Linked DNA regions of Homo sapiens: all the other regions are linked to region 2. Evidence: promoter capture Hi-C in human tissues and cell types (Jung and others, 2019). All regions are on one chromosome and are shown on one strand. Each heading gives the region's core, a stretch centred on a gene start or on the middle of the fragment in contact. The rest is flanking DNA. Distances are from core to core; before and after follow the strand shown. Region 1 has its middle 250 kb from the start of LNC-LBCS. Region 2 holds the start of ID4 (inhibitor of DNA binding 4). Region 3 has its middle 360 kb from the start of LNC-LBCS. Region 4 has its middle 330 kb from the start of LNC-LBCS.

The links. Contacts are between HindIII fragments. The study calls those that stand out against the background at their distance.
Region 1: a fragment that was not itself captured here is called in contact with the fragment with the promoter of ID4 in region 2 in 1 of the 25 tissues and cell types used here (IMR-90 fibroblasts).
Region 3: a fragment that was not itself captured here is called in contact with the fragment with the promoter of ID4 in region 2 in 2 of the 25 tissues and cell types used here (H1 embryonic stem cells and aorta).
Region 4: a contact is called between a fragment that was not itself captured here and the fragment with the promoter of ID4 in region 2, in 2 of the 25 tissues and cell types used here (IMR-90 fibroblasts and hippocampus).

The regions. Positions count from the first base shown.
Region 1 is chr6:19,550,492-19,554,068 of GRCh38, reverse strand. No RefSeq gene overlaps it. Among named protein-coding and RNA genes, the nearest start is that of LNC-LBCS, 250 kb to the left of the region's middle. The HindIII fragment of the contact is 5,357 bases long and covers 1-3,577 here.
Region 2 is chr6:19,834,590-19,838,675 of GRCh38, reverse strand. ID4 (inhibitor of DNA binding 4) reads right to left here and starts at 1,306. Exons shown (of 3, transcript NM_001546.4): 1 at 481-1,306; 2 at 34-92. The coding sequence starts at 921. The coding sequence ends at 48. The HindIII fragment of the contact is 7,095 bases long and covers 1-4,086 here.
Region 3 is chr6:19,445,073-19,448,947 of GRCh38, reverse strand. No RefSeq gene overlaps it. Among named protein-coding and RNA genes, the nearest start is that of LNC-LBCS, 360 kb to the left of the region's middle. The HindIII fragment of the contact is 3,137 bases long and covers 1-3,090 here.
Region 4 is chr6:19,469,036-19,472,555 of GRCh38, reverse strand. No RefSeq gene overlaps it. Among named protein-coding and RNA genes, the nearest start is that of LNC-LBCS, 330 kb to the left of the region's middle. The HindIII fragment of the contact is 8,131 bases long and covers 1-3,520 here.

The DNA.
Region 1 (3,577 bases), core at 606-3,105, 290 kb after region 2:
CTTTCAATTTAACTAAAAGTTTAGTTTAACGAAAAGTTTATTATTTTAGTTTTGTGATGTTTCTCTGTAATTTCTTTTTTTCTTTTTTGAGACGGAGTTTCACTCCCCGTCGTCCAAGCTGGAGTGCAGTGGCGCGATCCCCAGTAGCTGGGATTACAGACGTGCGCCGCCAAGCCCAGCTAATTTTTGTATCTTTAGTAGAGATGGGCTTTTGCTATGTTGGCCAGGCTGGTCTCAAACTCCTGACCTCAAATGATCTGCCCACCTCGGCCTCCCAAAGTGCTGGGATAACAGGCGTGAGCCACCATGCCCAGCCTCTCTGTCATTTCTTAAGACAATATTTGTTCTGAGAAACTAGATTCAAGTTAATGAGGACCAGGATAAACCATATGTCTTAACAAAAGTACTAGATTGACCCTCTGTATTGTGGTAGAGTAGCTCATTGTAAAGGACACATTTCTTATCTATTTTTAGAAACTGGCAGAGTTTCAAATGACATTTCTATTTTTATAAACTTATCTGTGACTTCATGTCTGAAATCAATACATATGAAGGAAGAAAGATCATTTCATTTGTTCTTTCTAGACGCTAAGGCTTCAGCATTTATCTTTCCCACAATTGAAACTCTCATGTAAAGGTACTAACAATACTAATCTTTCTTATTTTTAACCTGAATCTTTTCTAGCATTTTCTCATCTCCAGAAAAGAAAGAAAATGTCTTCATATACTTGAAGATAGTTATTCTCTCTGTATCAGTTAGCTACTGCTGCATAACAAATAATCATAAAAATCTCAGTAAGTAAAAAAACATAAGCATTTATTCTTACAGATATGAGGTAGGCTGAGGTTCAGCTGACTGCAGCTGTCTAGGCTGGTATAGGTTCACATGAGCTCTCACTCTCCAGCTGGGGTCAGTTTATTACTATTTCCACAAAATTGCAAGTCTCAGCTTTTGCATCTACTCAAAGTCTGTTGTTAAGAATATTTTGAAGATGGTATTTTCCTCTTCCAGGGCCATGTGATAAAATCCTTTTCCAGGAAGAAATTATCATCACAGAAATTTGCTCATCTCAGTATATAAGGCCCTTCTGCTCTAGCTCTCTAGCATCTAAATGCTCTGTGTTCTACCCAGCCATGTATAAAATATGTTCCTTTGATGTGAAGAATAACTTCCTGATTGGGATTGAGCTGAAATGGGGCCCTCCTTTGGGCAGAAACATAAGTGACATCATAATTCCTGCGAAACATTTACATCTTCCCAGCCTGCATCACCTGAAAATTTTGCTTTGTAATCAATTTTATACCTACTGTCATTTGGGCTTGAATTCCTCTTTATTAAGGATTAGATAAGACGTTGGTGAGGGGCTGGGAGGAGAGAGAGAGAGACAGCATGTGCATGAGTCTTTTGTATGTGTATGTACCTATGCATGTGTATGATTAAGCAGAACATATTTATTTTATAATTAAGCATAATCTTTATTCCTTTAATAGCAGTGCTATTAAGTGCATCTGACGTCCATCAGCAAGTATGAAATATTAATTTGTAAATGTTTCATTTGTAAATGACCCTCTCCCACACATGCCAAGGATCAGTACTTAAATTTCATCGACTGTATTTTTAAAATTTCCAATCTGAGGACCTGTGAGAAAAGTTACAATTTAAGATCTTTGCTCACATCTTATTTTCATGTTAACCAGGCAGAACAGGCTGATTCAGATGTTTGGAAGCATCAGAGTACTTAATCTGTTACCACTGCTTTGCATCCTATCATGTTCTAGACTTCTTAGGAGCAATCTTTATTTATTTTTGGAGCTCACAGATTGCATTTGAACGAGTCAGGAATATTTTCCAGCTTATTTTAGTTAACTTACTCATATTTTGCCCAAGTGGAGAAAAAATACACTGTTTTCCAAAGAGTTAGTATTAGTGCCATTCTAGTGATAGAATATTATTTTACTTGATTACTCCGAAGACAAAAGAAATTCTCAAACTTGTCTGGTTTCATACATGCACATGAAGGTGTAGACCTGCCCAAATAGCACATTTCTCTTCATTAGATAAATCAAGTCGAAGTTCTCACTGAAATCTTGTGTTTTAATTTTACTTCCCACACCTAAATACTTAGTGTTTTTAAGTAATCCTTATTCCTTGAGCTCATGAGTAAACCCACAAGCATTACTTCACCTTTAAGAGCTACTCGAGTGATAAATATCCATGTTTGACTCAAAGCATGCACTCCCAGTGATGATGGGACTAGTTGCCTGGTTATTTGTGGTTATTTTTGTAGCACCTGTGGATTCCAAGATTGGTCATTTGTTTCATCAGAAGTATGTGTCATACATTTTTATTAATTCACTGAACACAGGTGTTTCCTGATTATCTACTTGATTAAGTATACGTAGCTAGCGACCAAATTAAAACAGAACAAATAGGACCTTCCATGCTTACTTCCCTTCCCATATCCATTTTCATTATCATATAATGTGAAGCTCAATGGCCACTGTCTTGTTTTAATTTGGTAGAACCTAAAATCACTCCAGACTCTTCTCAGTGCCAAGCACAATGCCTGTTGTTTGTTGAATGAATACATGAATGTATGACTGAATGTATGCATGTATTTATGAATTCTTTTAATATAAACAGTCACCACTAATGCCAGGACCATGGATAAACAATCCATGGATAAACTTTTATTTTTACTCTTATTTTAATCTTCACTTGCAGATATTATTCTTGAGCATTCAGAGACTGTCGGAAGCAGCATGCAGCAGGGAGGAATAGAGATAAGGACTCTAACAAGGGCCAAATCTTTCTGCCCATTAATCAAACTCATAATTCCCATTGAGACAGGTAAAACAATGAATAGCACTAAGGAAAAAATTACTTTATATCATGAGCATATTTAAAAGCTAAAATCAGTGACTGGTGTCCCAGGGCACAGCAGAGATACTTCTAAAAGGCAAAGAAGTTTGAAGACTCTCATTAAGGAGATGTCGCCTGCATGCACAGATAAAACAGGAAAGAAAAATGTATCTAAAGTTCCAAGGAAATGTAGACCATATTCTTCCTCCCACTCTATTTCACTGAATGATTCTCTAAGTTACAATATGAATAAAATGGAGCTTGAAATAGACAAAATGGGACTAAAGCTTTTTTTTTCCATGTAATATCTTAATGGAATTCCTACACCCTACCTTCTGCCCAAGATTATTTGGCTTTTCTATATACTTAGGAAGGAAAATTTTAAGTTTGTAGTTAATGTCACTTTCAATAAGTACCACCACTGTGTTTCTAGATACCCCATGTTTAGGGTATTCAGGGGATATATTTATTTGGTCATGCCTTACCCATTTAGATTGGGTACCATTTGTACTTGCAAGCTTTAATGGAAATGATAGCTAAAACGTGAATGAATGCCTCCTCTGTGGGTAAAACTAAGCCTAGATGCCAACAGCTATAGCAGTTAAATATGCGCCAATTTTCATAAAAAGAGCAGCCATAGGCAATGAAGGCTGGGCAGAATGCACAGAAACAGAAAAAGCCTCCATGAGTTGCCTTCTCTACAGTCTGCCTTCT
Region 2 (4,086 bases), core at 57-2,556:
ACCGGCCACCCGAGACGGGAAATGCGCGCTCACCTGGACAGCGCGGCTCAGCGGCACAGAATGCTGTCGCCCTGCTTGTTCACCGCGCCGGCCTGGAACAGCAACCGAACACCAAGGGAAAGGTTAGCAGGCGCAAACAACGCGCTCGACACGGTCCTGGATTGTCCTCGGAAATCAGGCTGGCGCGCCGACGCCCCCACCCCAGCCTGTAGCCGGGGGGGCCCCTCCGGGCTCAGGCGGGACTTGACAGCCCAGGGCGCCCACAGCCCCGAGTCCCGCCCTGCGCGTTCTCCCGGACCCGCGCTCGCCGAGCCCGGCCGGCTGCTGGCGGCCCGGGGGAGCCCGGAGGAGCAGGGGGAGGGGGCTGTCATTCCTGGCCCGCCCCTGCCCGGAGGACGGTGAGCGCCCGCGTCCCGCCACCACGCCACCAACCTCCCATCCCCCGCGGCGTCCGCCCACGGCCGGCGCCCGGCCTCTCACCGGGTCGGTGTTGAGCGCAGTGAGCGGGGTCCGCGGCGGCGCGGCTGGACAGGTCCCGGCCGGGTGGTGTGGCGGCGCGGGCGGTGGTGGCTGCCTCAGCAGGGCCGGGTGCGTCTCCAGCGCCAGCTGCAGGTCCAGGATGTAGTCGATAACGTGCTGCAGGATCTCCACTTTGCTGACTTTCTTGTTGGGCGGGATGGTGGGCACCAGCCTCCGCAGGCGGCTATAGCAGTCGTTCATATCGCACTGCAGGCACAGCGCCGGCTCGTCGGCCGCCGCCTCGGCCGCCTTACAGCGCGCTGCCGCCGCCGCCGCCGCCGCGGCTGCGGAGCCACCCAGGCTGTGGCCGTGCTCGGCCAGGCAGCGCAGCGCCAGCTCCCCGCCGCCGCAGCCCGACGGCGCCTTGCGGCCCGAGGGGCGCACCGGGCTCACCGCCTTCATCGCGCGCGCCCTGCGCTCTACGCGAGCGAACCCGCTGGGGCGAGCGAGGGAGGCAGGCAAGCTCCGGGCCCCGTCCGCGGCCGGCTCCGCTCCCTTTGCCTCCGCGCCCGGCGCGCTCGGGGCACCGCGACACTCCCGAGCCCAACAATTGACGGGAGGGTCGCTCTGGGTTTTACGAGGGAATCTTTGCTCAGTGGGCGACACTCAGCCCGAGCCCAAAGGAAAAAAAAAGCAAAAGCACCGGAAGAAAAGTAGCCCACCCGGGTGTCCTAGTCACTCCCTTCGGAGCTCCGACTAAGCCCGATCGCGGCCGCCGCGCTCCCCTAGCCCGGGATCACCCCACTCCCGGTACTACTCACAACCGCGCCTCCTCCACTACGCTCTCGCCCGGCCCGCCGCGCAGCTGTATTTATAGAGCCGTGCGCCCCGGGGGCGGGACCAGCGCGCGGGCCGGGTCGCAGCGCGAGCCGAGCGGAGCCCGCTGGGCGCGCGGGCGGGGGCGCGGAGGGAGAGGCGAGGGCGGGGGCTCCGGGCGGTGCTGGGGGGCGGGGAGTCCGGCTACCCGAGTGGAGGAGTGGGCGGGGGGTCTGGAGTGGCCAGCCAATCAGGCGGGCAGTGCCACCTCGGGGAATGACGCTCGGGCCAATGGGAAGGGCACTCCATTCCGTCAACGCTGTGGGTCGGGGTTCTGAGAAAAGAGAGCTGAGTGGGAGTCGGGCCAGGCTGATGTGTGCCCAAGGGAGGGGAAAAGAGAGAGCGAAGTTCCTGCGAAGAACTGCGGGAATGTGCGGCCGGAATTCACTCTCCACCGCCCCCCTTATCCCGACTAGGCTGCTGAGGGAGCGCCTGGGCCCTGCTCGCGGATACCCTGCCACTCCTAATAGCACGGCGCCCAGGGACCCTCCGCCACCCATCACTCCATCCGTGGGATTCCAGTGCCTTAAGAAAGACGCGCTGTTCAAGAAGGCACGTTCATTCTGTTCTATATTTCCCTCCTCCGTTTCATTATTCGCCTTTTCACATTTGCCGAAACCATAATGATGGAATGGAATGTGTAGCCTTTCCGTTTTCTTTTTAAAAAATGCTAAAGCTTAGCAAAAGTAGAAAAAAAAAGAAGGAAAAGAATGCCGAATCGAATGCAGGTTTTTGGTGAAGGGAATATAAATAAAACAAAAACGTGGGGGGGGTTCTTTTACCCCATCTAAATGCAAAAGTGGGCTCAAGAAATGCAGTTGCCTTGCGCATTCAATTAGAGCACGTAAAGATTAAAAATGCATGGACACGGAATATTTAAAATTCCATTATGACATATAATATTAATCTGTTTTATGTAAAATTCATACCTGTAACTTAATTTAGGCCATTAATGCACAGCTTCACGTATTAGTCAGCGTACCCCGCTTTAAATAAGGTGATGAGAATGTCCAGAGTCGCCTCCTTTGACAGCAAAGCATTAAAATTCACACTTCCAGTCTCTGGGATCCCGCTTGGGCCCCACCCTGCAAAAAAAAGCCTGTTAATTAAGGGCGTTTTTGTGTTAGATTTCTTAGAGAAAAGCTGTCCTTCAAGGGTTCAAAATAAAATTGCACAATGAGCTTTGGTGGAGCATTGTGTGTACCCTTCAAGAAAAAATTGAGCCCTTCAGATGAGAAAGGTGCATAAAAATTCTCAGACAATGGGGAAATGAATTTTGAGTGCCTTCACTCTACAAACCCTCCCACCTTTAGACACGCTTGGAGATGAATTAACCCAAGAATTTTCTTCATTCGTGTACATGACATGGATTGGTGTCTTCATTTTCATAGATAATTGAAAGAAAGAGACATGGACCTCATTTCTTCCTGTCTACCCCTATATGGACTTTTTCTACATCCATTCCCAGAACTGAAATACCTGCACCAGGCAGATATTTTGTTTAGCTATGTCAGTGCTTTATGACTATCGCACTATTCCCCAGAGCACATTCCTTTCTCCTGATGAAATGAGGAGCAACTATTTAATTCTGGTTTCACAGGTAGATGCAATAACCCTCCTCTCCCCTAATCCTTGTATGTTACTGCTTCTAATAATTGTTTGGAAACAAGTGCCATTCTCATTTATTTATGTGCATACGTAGATGGTCTACATACACATTAATCGAGAAAATCAGAATTATGAAACTCAGAAGGGCTTTCTTCTAAAGACAGGCATAGTCATATACATCATTAAATTAATGCAAATACAGAGAAAATGTTGTAATTTTAAATGGGAAGTCGGTGAAGCCAGCACTACTGGTTGTAAGCTATTATCTTGGAGCCAGTCATATGAGCACAGACGATAATAATAAATGGATATATGTACAGATGTTTTGTTCCATTGATCTTTCTCTTTCCTAGAGTTTAAAATTTGCTTCCAAATTCAAAACCCAAGACTTTCCTCTGTTTGGCAAAATAAAACTATGCTAATATGCCCAGGACACACTTACATTTAAACATTTTACATATCCTAACGATTAAAATTAAAATTTAAGTTTTGAATACGTAACACAAAGGAAGAATCATATCGACCTTTTTGGAATTTGCTAAATCTCAGAAAGCCATGCCTTGGGTGTGACAAGCGCCAAATGCCTAAGTTTCAGGTTTTGTTGGAGATGCTCTGTGTGACTGGCTTAAAGTTAGAAAGACTGAGTTACTCTGTGTGGGGTGGGGTGGAAGAGGTGGTTTCAAAGGAATGTACCTCAGCCACAAGATCAAGAATACCCAGGAAAGATGTGATCCGTAAATCCTGCTAGCAGAGTAGGCAGAGGCAGTTACTGTGCTCCTTGTTTTGAAGGTTGGAAGGCATGAAGACATTAAAAAATTAAAGTGCTACCATATACTATGGGAATAAGGAATACAATCCTGCACGTTTTGGTCCATGAAACCAGAGAGTACTAGGGGCTATGCAATGTATGTTTTTGTATTCTTAGACATAGACACTTACATGACATCAAAGCTGCAATCATGGAAGATTCCTGGCACTGATAATTCAAAACAGTTTACCCAATTATCACTCAGATTTTGGATAAACCTTACAAGCTATGTTATTTCTACTGTGCAGAGAAGGTAACTTAGTCTGTTGGTGACTCTTTTACATCAAAGTGTTTCACTTGCACTTGTAAAAGTAAAATGGGCTAACCCAAATCCT
Region 3 (3,875 bases), core at 273-2,772, 390 kb after region 2:
CTTTTTTTTTTTTTAAAGTACATGGTGCTAAGTAAAGTTTAACTCTTAAAAGATTAACTATGGTGTAATGAATGTGTACTGTCCATGGACAGCTTCCTGGTCTCACCTGGGCTAATTATTTGCGAATTATTCTCTGCTTTCAACTAAAGTGTGCACGCACACACACACAAATGACTTGTGCATTTGTGTGTGTGTGTGTGTGTGTGTGTGTGTGTGTGTGACCTATTTCTCATGCCATTCGCTTTGTGTGTGCCACTAGGGACCTTTGAGGGATCACATCACAGGGAGCCGAGGATATGGCAGAGTAGCTTCTTTTTCAACCATTTTATTGTTGCTCTTGAGCCTGTAACTGTAGCCTATATATAGCACAAGGCTTTAGGGCAAGGCTCCCTGCATTACCTTTCTCTGTTATTATAAGCTCATCTCAGAGTTAATAATTTCCTCCAAGGAGGTGATGCTGTAATAAAGATAATTAAATTGAAATTTAATATAGTGGGGCATTGTACTATAGCTTTATATCAGATGAGGGTTCTGAGAGAAACCATTGCTGTGAGGGTGGAGTGTAAGGTATGTAATTAACAATTATGTTTGTCAGGTTTATGAAACAGAAAATTAATAACATGGAGACTGTAAAACAGTGAACAAAGCTGCAAATTCTAAATTAAGGTGACTAGGCCATCATTTACCCCTAGAGCAATAGGTGTCTTTTTTTTTTTTTTTTTTTCAGAAATAGAATGCAGGATCATGTTGATTTACTCACTTAAAAAAAAAAAAAAACTTGTTGCACTCCCAGACAGAATATTTTCTCTGTAGCACAGTGATTCTCAATCTTGGCTTTGCAGTAGAATTACTTAGAAAGCTTTTTAAAATTCAGGTGCTTTCTTAAATATGCTGTTGGCCACATACATGTTTCTTTTGAAAAATGTCTGTTCATGTCTCCTGCCCACTTTTTAATAATTTTTTTTTGCTTGTAAATTTAAGTTCCTTCTGGACACTAAACCTTTGTTGGATGCATAGTTTGCAAATATTTTCTCCTGTGTTTAGGTTGTCTGTTTACTCTTTGCTGTGCAGAAGCTCTATAATTTAGTTAGATCCCATTTGTCAATTTTTGTTGCAATTGCTTTGGCATCTTCATCATAAAATCTTTGCCAGGTCTTATGTCCAGAATGGTTGTCTTTCAGGGTTTTTTTAATATAGTTTTTAGATTTTACATTTAAGTCTTTAATCCATCTTGAGTTGATTTCTGTATATGGTGTAAGAAAGAAATCCAGTTTCAGTCTTCTGCGTATGGCTAGCCAGTTATCCCAGAACCATTTTTTGAATAGGGAGTCTTTCCTCATTGTTTATTTTTGTTAATTTTGTTGAAGATCAGATGGCTGTAGGTGTATGGCTTTGTTTCTGGACTCTCTATTCTATTTTATTGGTCTATGAGTCTGTTTTTGTACCAGTACCATGCTGTTTTGGTGACTGTAGTCTTGTAGTATAGTTCGATGTGGGATAATGTGATGCCTCCAGCTCTGTTCTTTTTGCTTAGGATTGGCTTGGCTTTTGGGCTCTTTTTTTTTTTGTTCCATTGGAATTTTAAAATAGTTTTTTTCTAATTATCTGGAGGATGTCATTGATAGTTTATAGAAATAGCATTGAATTTGTAAACTGCTTTGGGCAGTATGGCCACTTTAATAATATTGATTCTTCCTATCTGTGAGCATGGAATATTTTTGCATTTGTTTGTGCCATTTCTGATTCCTTTGAGCAGTATTTTATAATTCTTGTCGTAGAGGTCTTTCACCTCCTTGGATAGCTATATTCCTAGGTATTTTATTCTTTTTGTGGTTATTGTGAGTGGGATTGCATTATTGATTTGGCTGTCAGCTTGGACGTTGGTGTATAGGAATGCTAGTGATTTTCGTACCTGGATTTTATATCCTAAAACTTTGCTGAAGTTGTTTATCGGATCAGGGAGCTGAGACTATGGGGCTTTCTAGGCATAGAATCATATTGTTCGCAAACAGGGATAGTTTGACTTTCTCTTTTCCTATTTGGATGCCCTTATTTCTTTCTCTTTCCTGAATGCTCTGGTTAGTATTTCCAGTACTGTGTTGGATAGGAGTGGCAGGAGTGGGCATCCTTGCCTCAAGCTGGTTTTCAGGGTAAATGCTTCCAGCTTTTTTCCATTCAATATGAGGTTGGCTGTGGGTTTGTCATAGATGACTCATTATTTTGAAGTATGTTCCTTCATGCCTAGTTTGTTGAGAATGCTCAAGATCACTAATTATTAGAGAAATACAAATAATTTCATATCAGTCAGAATGGCGATTATTAAAATAACAGATGCTGGCGAGGTTGTAGAGAAAAAGGAATGCTTATACACTGCTGGTGGTAATGTAAAGTTCAGCTGTCGTAGAAAGCAGTTTGTTGATTTCTCAAAGAACTTAAAACAGAATTACTATTGGACCCAGGAATCCCATTGTTGAGTATATACCTAAAAGAATGTAAATCATTCTACCACAAAAAGACACATGCACACATATGTTCATTGCAGCACTGTTCGCAATAGCAAAGACATGGAATCAACCTAAATGCCCATCAATGGTAGACTGGATTTTAAAAAGATGGTACATATATACCATGGAATACTATGCAGCCATAAAAAAGAATGAGATCATGTCCTTGGCAGCAACATGGATGGAGCTGGAGGCCATTATCCTAAGCAAACTAATACAGGAACGGAAAACCAAATACTGCATGTTCTCACTTATAAGTGGGAGCTAAAATTTGAGTACACATAGACACAAAGAAGGGAACTACATCCACTGGGGCCTACTTGAGGGTGGAACATGGGAGGAGGGTAAGGATCGAAAAACTACCTGCCATCTTTAATTCCTTTGAATAGTGTTTTGTAAATATCCTTGTAGAGGCCTTTCACCTCCTTGGTTATTGGGGATTATGCTTATTACCAGGGGGTGACAAAATAAAATCTGTACACCAAACCCCTGTGACATGCAATTTCCCTGTATTTCAAATTTGCACTTGGACCCCTGAACCTAAAATAAAAGTTAAAGAAAAGGTCCTTGGTGATATAAAAAAATCCAGATGCCCAGGTCCATCCCAGACCAATCAAAGTAAAACTTCCAGGAGTAGGACCCAACTACCAGTATATTAACAAGCTCTCTAGGTGATCCCAATGTGTAGCCAAAGTGGGAGATCCTGTTAGTAAATGTTTAGTGTGATTGATTTCCCTGGCGGAGAGTGTTAGGTTAGAAGAAAAGGAAAAAGAAAAAAAAAAAAAAAAAACAGGAAAGAATAACTGCATAATAATTAATTATTCATAGACTGTACTTATCCTGACAAATAAAAATTTACAGAATTTGTCCATGAACAGGAGGTATTATTAAGACAGTATTGCCATTTCTGATATTTAGACATCCATGTTTCCAGGGAAAACAGAGAAATCTTGGCCCCTTCCTATACTCCGCCCTCTGGGCTACCAAAACCCATGAATGTTTGAAGGTTTCTGAATGAGGCCACAGAATTTCCCAAATTATTATGGGCAAGTGCTGGTTCTGTCTTTGCCAATCTGGGCTCTTATACGCTCCATGGCAGAATGAGAGGGAAACATGGCCAGAGTGATGATCACACAACCAGGAAGCAGAAGAAAGTGTGTTTGGCAAATCCCCATTCTAACCATGCCTTCTGCATAAAGGCAGGGTCTGGGATCTCTGCAGAAGCTGGTATATGTATGTGTGTCACATCACACGTGCACAGACACACACACACACACACAATCTCAGAACATACCTGCATAGAGAGCGTTCCTGTATTGGTCTTTTTGAGTTTAATAGGTCACCAAACTAGAGTGGATTGGAGGTAAGTTT
Region 4 (3,520 bases), core at 357-2,856, 370 kb after region 2:
GGACCTGTATCATTAAGCTCACTAGCGCCAAGCTGCAGTGGTGTTCTGACTCACCATGGCCATGGAGTGTATTATGAGGTGAGGTTCATCGCATACAGAGGTAATAACGTTCTAGTCTCTCTTCACTTACTCAAAGGTCATGACAATGCCTCAGGCAGTGAGGGAAGAATTCTAGTGCAGCCCAGGTTCCTTGGGAAACTCTTGCATTCTAAGGCAGCAGAGCCCTGACTTGGCCAACCACAGATGTGTGCAAAAGACAGGTCTGATGCATGACTCATAGACCCCCCTGAAGGGTTCCTAGAAATACATTAGGAAATATCTGTAAAGCGATAGCCTTCTTTAAGAAAAGAAAGTGGAAGCTCTGAGGCACTGAGAATTTTCTCATGGTTTGGTGAAGATTGAGATGCTGAGGTGCATGTTTGTCCTTTGCCTCTTGGTGCAGGAGCCACTGACTACTTCTCTCCCCTGAACACGTGCTGTCCTCATCCCTTGCAGTGCTGGTGCAGAAGCGTTCTCTTTCACTAGTGATTATAAGACTTTGGAAGCATGGAAAAGTTGACTGGGTGGGCACTTGTGTGAAGATGCCTTTTGTCAAATTCAAAAAGCACTCTCAGGCTATGCATAACTCATTCAAATAATGGTACAAGCTCCCCACCCAAGCGGAAGCTGGGAAAGCCTCAGTCTCCCTTTATTCTAGCAAGTTAATTCTGGTCAACTCAAGTCAAATGATTATCCCCCAAATCATGTTTATTATGACCCCTATGAGGCCCTGAAGAGCTTCATGTAAATTAGAATCTTGACTTTCCACACTATTCGTGAACCTCCCTTAATTTAATTGTACTCTCTCCCTTTCCCCCAAGGTTAAAAAAAAAAAAATTAATCCAAACTTCCCTACAGTCGCATTTTCTTTGTGAAATCTTTTGATATAAAAAAATTATCAATTCCAGTGACTTTAATCACTTAATGAACCCTCTTATCTTTTTGCTGTTCCACCTTCTGAATTACTTATGGAGCAAGCCAATTGAAAGTGCCCATTGATGGAACTTTTGAATGGAAACAGATGCAGGCTTAATTTTGCATGCCAACACGAAAGGCAGCATCCACAGTTTTTGGGATTCAATTTGAAAATTTAGGTTAATTAATTTTAGCCTAAATAACTCTGATAACGTTATTCATTAAGGGGTTTATTGTAGAGATATGTATGCCGTTCCTTATGAAAGTTCCTTGAAATTTTCTCTATTAACTATTTTAGTTTTTAGAGTAAACTTTTATAACTTTACACTAGCTGAAAGTGGAAGAGAAATATAACAGATTAGAGCCAAAGTACTTATCCAGAACCGACATTTGAGAATCTTTATAAGGCTATGTGTGACTCCCATGGGAGTTATTTTTTCATAGTTTTGTATAAAATTACAAAGAAATATGGTTCAAAAGTGAAGGTACCTCCAAAATCTGGAGAGCCATGCCTGAATTTATGATGTTGGAATTGCTTTTGTAACATTTATTTATAAATTATATGTTATTTTAAATAAATGATTTAATGATATTTGCTACTTAGAAAAATCTTGCGGCAGATCCTTCTAAAATATGAAGGATTCTTGGGTGAAGTCATCAGATACTCCCATGTATATGTGCTGTGTGGTTGTATTTTTGTAAAATAGATTTTCTCAAAGCAGGAGACTCTTAGACCTAAATGTTTCCTCATGCCAAATTGTTCTCTATCTTGGGAGAAGTGGGCCAGGCGCAGGGGGTGCACTCTGCTCCTCTGAAATGGTCACCTCTGTTTGTGAGTGTGTGTATGTATGAGTGTGTGTATGCATGTATGTGTGTGAGTGAATCGAATGTGTGAGTGTGTATGTGTGTGTAAATGTGCATATGTGTGAATGTGTGTATGCATGTATGTGTGTGGGAGTGTGTGGATGTGTGAGTCTGTGTATATGTGAATGTGTATGTGAACGTGTATATATGTGTGAGCATGCAAATGTGTGTGTATGTGTGAGTCGGGGTATGTTTGTGTATGTACGTGTGACTGTGAATGTGTATATGTGTGTATGTGTGTGAACGTGTATGTGTGTGTGTCTGTGTATGTGTGTGTGTATGTGTTAGTGTGTGAATGTGCATTGTGAGCGTGCAAATGTGTGTGCCAGGGTGTGTATGTGTGAGTGTATGCGTATATATGTGTGATTGTCAATGTGTGCATATGTGTGACTGTATGCATCTCTGTGTGAGTGTGTGTATGTGTGAATTTGTGTGTATGTGTGAGTCTGTGTGTGTCTGTGGGAGAGTGTGTGTGTGTGTGTGTGAATGGGCAGGAGTAGGCAGGAGAAAGAAAAACATTCGTAAACTGATTAGAGGTGGACCCTCAGTAATAGCACAGATATGATCTCACTGACCGTCAAAGCCCCTTGGACTTCCTTCTTTTGGACTTCAGACCTCAGAGTTTACACTCTTAAATGGCATATTTTTTCACTTCTGGTTTAGTGTTCGTAGGTATGCTACATTCTTTTTCTTCATTGTTCTCATTCTCTTTCTCTCTTTTCTCTCTCTCTCTCCCCCCCGTCTCTCTGTCTCTGTCTCTATCTCCCTCTCACTCTCCCTCCCTTTGCCTTGGATGTGTGTACATAGTCTCTCTGCATTTGACCCTCGTCGTGCATGCAGTAAAGGTTAAAAGGGTGCTTTTCTGTGTGCCTGTCTTTTCACCTGAGAAGGAGGAAAATAATAAATTTATAATTAATGTGGATGTTGTTTCTATGGATTCATCATATTTTCTATCTTGGTAAAGAAAAGGGAAGGGTGGTAGACAAATTTGAGAAAATTTAAGATTTTTATAAAATATAATTCATAAAGAGAAAAAAAGGTATTAGTATGTTTACTATGAAAATCTGAGTGACAGGTCTCTACAGAGAATCCAGAAACAAAATTGAGACCAAGGACCACAGACCAGATGCTCAAAAAGAGAGAGGTCTGGAGTAAGAGGCATCAAATGATAATTCAAGGTAAATATACATATTTTTTAGGGAAAATCTTACATCCTTCAGTCAATTAAGCATGCAAAAGAAGTATCCAGAATGGTGGTTTATGCAATTTTATTTCCCAGATAACTAGCTTTTGGAGAAAGATGCTCTCGAAGCTAAAATTACTTAATTTCCTTAAAAGTTACTAGACTTTGTTTTTAAATACTTAAATCATATGATAGTAAGACTCATTTTTTTCTATGAACAAATGTCTTCAAAATTATTCTAAAATGATTTCCGAAGTGTCTGATAGTGGTTTTATTTCAATTAAAAACAGGGCACATTTGGAAAGTCAAAAGTGCGGTAATGATATTAATGCACATCCACACACATTCTAACTACCAAATTATCTTCTTCATTGTTACTAAAAATAAAAATTGGAACATATTTTTGCCACATATATTGGTTTCAAATAGAAAACTTGAGACGACAGATCTCAGTGCTTGCTAATGGGCTTTTAAAAACCTACAATTCATGAGTACCCAGAAAAGGTAAATTTGACCTCT